Linked DNA regions of Homo sapiens: region 1 is linked to region 2. Evidence: promoter capture Hi-C in human tissues and cell types (Jung and others, 2019). All regions are on one chromosome and are shown on one strand. Each heading gives the region's core, a stretch centred on a gene start or on the middle of the fragment in contact. The rest is flanking DNA. Distances are from core to core; before and after follow the strand shown.

Evidence for each region. Contacts are between HindIII fragments. The study calls those that stand out against the background at their distance.
Region 1: a contact is called between a fragment that was not itself captured here and the fragment with the promoter of THBS2 in region 2, in 2 of the 25 tissues and cell types used here (aorta and bladder).

The regions. Positions count from the first base shown.
Region 1 is chr6:169,351,490-169,356,346 of GRCh38, reverse strand. No RefSeq gene overlaps it. Among named protein-coding and RNA genes, the nearest start is that of LINC02519, 34 kb to the left of the region's middle. The HindIII fragment of the contact is 4,542 bases long and covers 618-4,857 here.
Region 2 is chr6:169,251,024-169,256,094 of GRCh38, reverse strand. THBS2 (thrombospondin 2) reads left to right here and starts at 2,249. Exons shown (of 22, transcript NM_003247.5): 1 at 2,249-2,371. RefSeq lists enhancers at 2,663-3,174, 3,175-3,687, 4,200-4,713. The HindIII fragment of the contact is 15,923 bases long and covers 1-5,071 here.

The DNA.
Region 1 (4,857 bases), core at 1,639-4,138, 100 kb before region 2:
GAAAACACTTCTTTACATCTGGAAATGTTACCCCCACGTTTTCTGGCATCTGATGTTGCTGCAAATGTGAAGCCAAGGAGACCCTCCAGGATGCCCAAGCCTGGGAGAAATCCTGATGACTGGGGGTTGGAAAAGAAGCATGACACATAAGAAATGTTAGTTCTCTATTCTTATCATTGATTATCAGAGTAGATTAACCATAAAACTAACAATGCTGAAACTTGAGGACCTTCCCCAGAACTGCTGGGCCTCCAGCAGCATGATGCATAGGTTTTTGTGAAATTTTCAAAAGATTTTTAACTGCAATCAGCAAAAACGATTGTCTCTCTCAGTCCAACTTCCCAGCAGTCAAATTTCCCACAGTGGCAAATGATGTCAGAATTGCTACAGCATCTTTTGAGTCTGTCTAAGGGGAAGTAGAGCCATGGGTGCATTTGGTTCAGAGTTAGTGGAGTACGTGTATATGGTCATAGTCACTTCTGTGTTCTGATAGTGAAATGGTTTTGAAAACTACTCCAATAACCCACTCTGCTGACTTACCCAGCATCTTGGTGTTGCAGGAAATCAGGGACCCCGAATGGAGGGACTGGCTGGAGCCGCGGCAGAGGAACATAAATTGTGAAGATTTCATTTTAATATGGACATTTATCAGTTCCCAAATAATACTTTTATAATTTCTTATGCCTGTCTTTACTTCAGTCTATTAATCCTGTTATCTTTGTAAGCTGAGGATGTAGGTCACCTCAGGACCACTGTGATAATTGTGTTACCTGTACAAATTGATTATAAAACATGTGTGTTTGAACAATATGAAATCAGTGCACCTTGAAAAAGAACAGAATAACAGCGATTTTTAGGGAACAGAGGAAGACAACCATAAGGTCTGACTGCCTGCGGGGTTGGGCAAAAATAGCCATATTTTTCTCCTTGCAGAGAGCCCATAAATGGATGTGCAAGCAGGAGAGATATTGCTAAATTCTTTTCCTAACAAGGAATATTAATATTAATACCCTGGGAAAGGAATGCATTCCTGTGGGGAGGTCTATAAATGGCTGCTCTGGGAAATATCTGTCTTGTGCAGTTGAGATAAGGACTGAGATATGCCCTGGTCTCCTGCAGAACCCTCAGGCTTACTAGGGTGGGGAAAAACTCAGCCCTAGTAAATTTGTGGTCAGACTGGTTCTCTGCTCTCGAAACCTGTTTTCTGTTGTTTAAGATGTTTATCAAGACAATATGTGCACCGCTGAACATAGACCCTTATCAGTGGTTCTGCTTTTGCCCTTTCCCTTGTGATCTTTGTTGGACCCTTATCAGTAGTTCTGCTTTTGCCCTTTGCCTTACGATCTTTGTTGGATCCTTATCAGTAATTCTGCTTTTGCCCTTTGTCCTGTTCCCTCAGAAGCATGTGATCTTCGTTAGACCCTTATTAGTAGTTCTGCTTTTTGCCCTTTGAAGCATGTGATCTTTGTACCTACTCCCTGTTCTTACACCCCTCCCCTTTTGAAACCCTTCATAAAAACTTGCTGGTTTGAGGCTCAGGTGGGCATCATGGTCCTACCGATATGTGATGTCACCCCCGGCAGCCCAGCTGTAAAATTCCTCTCTTTGTACGGTCTGTCTTTATTTCTCAGCCCACTAACACTTATGGAAAATAGAAAGAACCTATGTTGAAATATTGGGGGCTGGGTTCCCCCAATATCATGGTACAAAGTTGCATGACCTTATGGTCATTTATGAAGAAATAAGAAAACAAAATGTAGCCAAAAACTGAAGTTAAAGTATTATAAAGGTGTGCTGTGCACTTTAACAATTTTTAAAAATGCTATTTTCTTGAATTTTGTGATGCCTGTGGTAACTATCATATTTAAAATATTTAATTTATCATAAATTATTTTCTTACTCTAAATAAATGTTCTCAACTCTTTATAATTTTATGCATGCAATTTTCATAGAGAGTTCTCCAAGTTGTACAACATTTAAGCCCGCAAAACCTGGGATCTCACTTCTGTTAAAAATTATAAAAATTGAGGTGGCTGGCAAGATGGCTGTATAGGAAGAGCTCCAGTCTGCAGCTCCCAGTAACATCAATGCAGAAGGCAGGCAATTTCTGCATTTCCAACTGAGGTACCTGGCTTATCTCACTGGGGCTAGTTAGACAGTGGGTACAGCCCACGGAGGGTGAGCTGAAGGAGGGTGGGGTGTCGCTTCACCCGGGAAATGCAAGGAGTCGGGGAACTCCCTCCCTTAGCCAAGGGAAGCGGTAAGGGACTGTGCCATGAGGAATGGTGCATTCCAGCCCAGATACTATGCTTTTCCCACGGTCTTCACAATCTGCAGACTAGGAGACTCCCTCATGTGTCTACACCACCAACGTCCTGGGTTTCAAGCACAAAACTGAGCGGCTGTTTGGGGAGACACTGAGCTAGCTGCAAGAATTTTTTTTCATACCCCAGTGGCTCCTGGAAAGCCAGCAAGACAGAACCATTTGCTCCCCTGGAATGGGCGCTGAAGCCACGGAGCCAAGTGGTCTAGCTCAGCAGATCCCACCCCCACAGAGCCCAGCAAGCTAAGATCTACTAGCTTGAAATTCTCCCTGCCAACACAGCTGTCTGAAGTTGACCTGGGACTCTTGAGCTTCTTGGGGGGAGCGGCGTCTGCCATTACTGAGGCTTGAGGAGGCAGTTTTTCCCTCATGGTGTAAACAACGCTGCTAAGAAGTTTGAGTTGGGCAGAGCCCACTGCAGCTCAGGAAAGCCGCTGTAGCCAGACTGCCTCTCTAGATTCCTCCTCTCTGGGCAGGGCATCTCTGAAAGAAAGGCAGCAGCCCCAGTCAGGGGCTTATCTGGGACAGAGCACCTGGGGGAAGGGGCAGCTCTGGGCACAGCTTCAGCAGACTTAACCATTCCTGTCTGCCAGCTCTGAAGACAGCAGCGGATCTCTAAGCACAGCGCTCGAGCTCTGCTAAGGGACAGGCTGCCTCCTTAGGTGAGTCCCTGACCCCTGTGCCTCCTGACTGGGAGACACCTCCCAGCAGGGCTCAACAGACACCTCATACAGGAGAGCTCCAGCTGGCATTTGGTGGGTGTCCTGCTGGGACAAAGCTTCCAGAGGAAGGAACAGGCAGCAATCTTTGCTCTTCTGCAACCTCCGCTGGTGATACCCAGGCAAAAAACAGGGTCTGGAGTGGACCTCCATCAAACTCCAGCAGACCTGCAGTAGAGGGGCCTGACTGTGAGAAGGAAAACTAATAAACAGAAAAGAATTGCATTGACATCAACAAAAAGGGCGTCCACACAAAAACCCCATCTGAAGGTAACCAACATCAAAGACCAAAGGTAGATAAATACACAAAGATGAGGAAAAGCCAGTGCAAAAAGGCTGAAAATTCCAAAAACCAGGACACCTCTTCTCCTCCAAAGGATCACACCTCCTTGTCGGCAAAGGAACAAAACTGGACAGAGAATGAGTTTGACAAACTGATAGAAGTAGGCTTCAGAAGGTGGGTAATAACAAACTCCTCTGAGCTAAAGGAGCATGTTCTAACCCAATGAAAGGAAGCCAAAAACCTTGAAAAAAGAGGAATTGCTAACTAGAATAACCAGTTTAGAGAAGAACATAAATGACCTGATGGAGCTGAAAAACACAGCCCAAGAACTTCATGAAGCATACACAAGTATCAATAGCTGAATCGATCTAGCAAAAGAAAGGATATCAGAGATTGAAGATCAACTTAATGAAATAAGGTGTGAAGACAAGATTAGAGAAAAAAGAATAAAAAGGAATGAACAAAGCCTCTAAGAAATATGGGACTATGTGAAAAGACCAAACCTACGTTTGATTGGTATACCAGAAAGTGATGGGGAGAATGGAACCAAGTTGGAAAACACTCTTCAGGATATTATCTAGGAGAACTTCCCCAGCCTAGCAAGACAGGCCCACATTCAAGTTCAGGAAATACAGAGAACACCACAAAGATACTCCTTGAGAAGAGCAACCCCAAGACACATAATCGTCTGATTCACCAAGGTTGAAATGAAGGAGAAAAATGTTAAGGGCAGCCAGAGAGAAAGATCAGGTTACCCACAAAGGGAAGCCCATCAGACTAACAGCAGATCTCTCTGCAGAAACCCTACAATCCAGAAGAGAGTGGGGGCCAATATTCAACATTCTTAAAGAAAAGAATTTTCAACCCAGAATTTCATATCCAGCCAAACTAAGCTTCATAAGTGAAGGAGAAATGAAATCCTTTATATACAAGCAATTCCTGAGAGATTTTGTCCCCACCAGGCCTGCCTTACAAGAGCTCCTGAAGAAAGCACTAAATATGGAAAGGAAAAAACAGTACCAGGCACTGCAAAAATATACCAAATTGTAAAGACCATCAACACTATGAAGAAACTGCATCAACTAATGGGCAAAATAACCAGCTAGCATCATAATGACAGGATCAAATTCACACATAACAATATTAACCTTAAATGTAAATGGGCTGAATGCCCCAATTAAAAGACACAGACTGGCAAATTGGATAAAGAGTCAAGACCCATCAGTGTGCTGGATTCAGGAGACCCATCTCATGGGCAAAGACACACATAGGCTCAAAATGAAGGTGTGGAGGAATATTTACCAAGCAAATGGAAAGCAAAAAAAGCAGGGGTTGTAATCCTAGTCTCTGATAAAACAGACTTTAAACCAACAAAGATCAAAAAAGACAAAGAAGGGCATTATATATTGGTAAAGGGATCAATGCAACATGAAGAGCTAACTATAATAAATATATATGCATCCAATACATGAGCACCCAGATTCATAAAGCAAGTTCTTAGAGACCTACAAAGAGACTTAGATTCCCACACA
Region 2 (5,071 bases), core at 1,000-3,499:
CCATGAACACCTACCCACTCTCTCTGCCTGAAATACTTTCTCAACTGGGGACACCCCATTCACGGGCCATGTTCCAATCGGCTTACCTTCTGTCTCCTCTAAACAGACTTCCCTGATTCTGGGCTGCCAGATTTTACAGAAGGAGGCCCATCTTCTCTGTACCTGCCCATCGGCACGTGGAGTCATGAATACATACCTTCCTGCTCCCCAGTGAGTGTCACGGTCTTCACCGCATGCTCCTGAAGTGCTGAGCAGCTGAGCTGCCTGTCTTCAGCTTTAATCAGGAAACACGCATTCTGTGGACTGAGGAACAGGAGAGGCCGTGGCACGCAGAGTAGGGGATGCCGCCCTCCATGTTCTGGCCCCAGGAAAAACTAACCTGGAGGCAGAAAAACTCAAACTGATGAATGGATAATTATCCACTGAAAATTCTTTAAGGGGAACTGGTTTATACTTTTTTTGAATTTGAGATAACATCAATCTATTTAAACTACTTTTTAATTCAAATGATGACTTTGTCCCTAATAGCTTAAAAAGCAAAATAACGTACCTTAAACATGACACATACACTCTTGGAGGCTTTTGTCTGTGCATGTGTCGGAAACTGATGTTTGCCAAGTGATAAATAAACAGGTGCCATTAGGAAAAACAGAGGTTTTCACAAATGAAAGCTCCTTCCCTCTCCCACACCCGCTCGCATATCCTCCCTGAAGACAGAGGCCAGAAAGTGAGGCTTGCTCTTCATGGTGCCTGCCGACCTCTGCAGCGCTGGACCCCTGTGGGGGAATGCCAGGAGGCTTAAGAGACACTCCCCTGCCACAGACACAGTAAGGGTTGTGTCCACAGAAATTCGCTTTAATGTTCTCTAACTAGGACTTGACGGATCCATGGCCAGGCTGACAACTCCACACAAACGTGAAGGAACCTGACAGGCAGGTGCCGACATGAAGCAGGTGCAGGTGGCTCCGGGCAAAGCAGCAGCTCCCCAGTCACCATCCACCCCACCTGGGGAAGTAGCACCTCCCCCATCCAAGGTCCACCCCAACCCAGGAGAAGCAGCAGCTCCCCTGTCTGCCATTAACCCTGACCTGGGAGAAACAACACATCCCCAGCCACCTTGCACACTGACCTGGGAGAAACAGCCTCTCCACCATCCACCTTTCACACTGGCCTGGGAGAAGTGGCACCTCCCCCATCCACTGTCCAGCCCAACTTGGGAGAAGCAGCCCCTCCCCCATGTACCATCAACCCCCACCTTAGAGCAGCAGCTTCCCCTTTCCACTGTATACCCTGACCTGGGAGAAGCAGCCCCTCCGCATCCATCGTCCACCCTGACCTCTGAGAAGCGGTGCCCCCCACCCCCATGCAGAGTGCACCCTGATTGCGGGTGATGCCTGAGGTGTGGGAGGGGCGGGGGTTAGCTGCTGCCACTGCTTCTCGTTCTCTCGAGTCCTTGCTCTGTGCCTGCACGTCAGGTTGTTCCTGTGATGGGGCCACGTGCAAGTGTGCACCAAGGGGACTTGGCCGGGTACTGTACGTCCACTGGGACACACCCTTCTACGGGTATTGCACGTCCACTGGGAGACGTCCTTCTAGGGGATCCTCACTGAGCAAATGAAGCAGAATTTGGGTAAAAATGAATTTTCCCAAAGCTGCAGTACAGCTTTTCAGTCCTCTAACTGCCTGAGATAAATGTTGGCAACTTCCTTTTATATTAAATTTCATTTTTGTCACATAATACACTTGATTATTGACCATAATAACTTTATTAATATACAGACTGATTATTGATACTCACCGATGTATTTCATGTGTTATTGAGAGTCACTCATTTGGTTTAGAAAGACCAATATCACATTGAGTAATTCGAAACATATTTAAGGCATAGAACTTGCATTTTTTTCTCTTAAGCAAAATGAGGAGTTCTAGCCAATCTTGCTAGTGTTATTTATAGCATCTTATTTCCTGAGAGAAGACAGGAAAAGTGAGTCCCTGCCTTCCCTCTCTCCGTCTGGCTCCTCCCAGGCCTGTCTGGCAGGGGCCGGGGTGCAGGAGGAGGAGACGGCATCCAGTACAGAGGGGCTGGACTTGGACCCCTGCAGCAGGTACTCGGAGCAAATGGTGAGATCAGAAGGGGGATGATGTCATTCCTTCGAAGGAATGAATTAAACGTGCTTCCTCGTGTGTCTGATTGACAGCCCTGCACAGGAGAAGCGGCATATAAAGCCGCGCTGCCCGGGAGCCGCTCGGCCACGTCCACCGGAGCATCCTGCACTGCAGGGCCGGTCTCTCGCTCCAGCAGAGCCTGCGCCTTTCTGACTCGGTCCGGAACACTGAAACCAGTCATCACTGCATCTTTTTGGCAAACCAGGTACGATTATTTCTTAAACTCAATCAATTATTTAATGGTGCTCTAATTTTAAGAAATTAGAGTTCTCGAACTCTAAGAAGCGGAGAAGAAAAAGGAGCAATTTCGATTCTTAACTTAAGGTGGGTGGTGTATCTATTAACACTAAATGGCAAGTGTTTCTTCACGTGGTGTTTCTACTGCCCGCTTGAAGAGCAAGGCACGTGGCCGCTCCTCAGCTTTTCCTCCGTGGCTGTGCTTTCACCAGCCGGGCACCCCTTCCTCTCTGAGGGTTGTGGCTGCTGCTATTTCAATGTATATACCTGCCTGGGAACCCGGGTAAACGCTTTATGTTTTCAGTTTCCGAAGAAGAAGATTCCACATGAGAGTTTGTTATTGAGGAGAGAATTAGAAACAACTCCCGGAATATCTGAAAAGTAACTGGAGATTAGAGAGAGACTCTGATTGTTAACATCATTATTAGTAGATTAGAGAGAGACTCTGATCGTTAACATTATTAGTAGATTAAAGAGAGACTCTGATTGTTAACATTATTAGTAGATTAAAGAGAGACTCTGATTGTTAACATTATTAGCAGCTGAAAAGTGGTTTTGAACATAACTAGAGAGTATTTGTGGTAAGTCTATGGAAAATCCTGTGACTGCCGGGACACACAGCGACTTTTAACAGTCTTGGGGCAGTTTGCATATGAAAAGCGAGCTGGCAGGTTGCCTGGCTACCACTTAAGGAAGGTGGGTTTGGCTGCCCAGGACTGGGAGCTGAGCACCCAGGAGTCTGGTGTTTAATCAGACTGCTGTTGGTGGTGGACGGCCGGTAAACAATTAGCTCTCTGCAAAGCTATCTTTTACTTTGATTGTTCATACGAAAAGAGTTTTAAAAGACCTTTGCAAATTCAAACTACATTCTGCTGCAGACAGGCACCGAAATCTTTCTTTTGGAAAAACACAAGCATAAACGTGGATGTGTGGCGTGCAGAGGCTGGGGCAGGGGTGAGCGGCACTGGCTCATCCGTGGCTCCATCCATGCATGCCCGGTGTCCCTGGATGGGCTGAGGCCAGGTAGCCTGGCTGCTCATCCTTCCTGTGGGATGGAGCCTCACTGTCCTTTGACAATCCGCAGCAGGGGATGCTTTGTTAGCCTCCTGCTCTTGTAAGAATCTACCTCAAGGCAGAGACAGTAGGATCTGGTTTCGTCAAAGGAGTTTGATTTAGTTTTTCTAACCTGTCCTTATGAAGCTGGGCATCCAGAACTTTCGCATTTACCATCCTGTTCTTGGCTGGCCTCTGCAGGGCCAGCCCCACACAGCTGTCCTTAGGGGACTGCGACGTACCCGGCAGTGTGGGCTGATGAGGTGGGGAGGTGGGAAGAGCCTGCCAAGGCTGTACCTGAGCTGTGTATTCTAACACCGTTCTGTGGTGCTTACTGCATGCAGGTACTGTTCTAAGCTCATGGCCAAGTGTTCGCTCCTGTCATTAAACCCTCTTAAGAGCTCCATAGAAAGGCCCTATCAGCACCACCATTATTACTGCAGCTGCCTCGGGCAGTTAGAGTAGAAAGCGCCCCAGACCCAGAGGCACATTCTGCTCCGGTAACCCATGCCTGTGGCTCGCTGGGCTAAGTCAGCCCCTGGTGAAGTTTCATTTGCCGAATTCATCTCTCATGACAACCCGATGAGGTGGGCATTTTACATGACGCTACGTTTCATTCTACGGATGAGGAAACTGAGACAGAGAAGTTAAGTAAGTTTCCCTAGGTTGCACAGCTGGTGCTCAGCATTGCTCAGCCTGGTGCTGACTCCGGCCGCAGGCCGTGCTGCTTCCGGAGCCAGGACAGATGAAACAATCACCAAGGACCCCTGGGGCGGCACTGGGGGGAGCAGATGGTTTGGGGGGGGGGTCCCAGCAGCAGATGGGTGGGGGGTCTGCAGGTGCTGCCAAGCATTTCTCTTCTTCTGAGGAATGTTTCTCTATTCCTGGAAGGTGAGGATTTCCAGGTTACCAAATGTTGTTTCTGGAGAGGGAGAGTCCTTGGATTAACAATGAGAAGTTAACGGCCTTTGATATTCTAAATATGGGAAGAATTGGGGTCTCAGTCTTCCCTTCAACCTAGAGCAGGGTGTGACCAATTGCTGGAAGGGACCTGGGGAGCCCTGGGACCCTCAGGCTCATGCTCGCCCGGAAGAGGAGAAGCTGAGATCCACAGGGTTAATCGCCCAGCCGGGCTTTGGACCACATCTCCTGACTTCGGGGCCAGCCTCCACTGAGCTGTGCCAACTTAAAATCCCCAAGAATGGAAAAACAGGCCTGCAGGAAAATAAAGAGGCAGGGTCAAAATGATGGCTAAGTCAAGTGTTCTGTTGTTTTGTAAGTATAATTCACCAAATTAAGTTTATTTGTAACTTTTTTTTACAGTTGATATTCATTCTATTTAATTAGGTTATGCATAACTGTTTTTTGCTGGATATTTACACAAAATGCGTTCACAGATTATTTTTGTCAGGCTGGATATTTTTCTAAATTCAAACTTTCTACATCTAAGTCCTGTCTACGAGTCGTATGAACAGAATTACTCCAGGCAAGCGCTGAACTTGCCCATCTTCCATTTGCTCATCTGTAAAATGAGGACAATTAGAGCAGCACATACCTCCCAGGCTATTATGAAGATGAAATAATAGGAATATTTAGAACGTGATGTGCAGTGCTT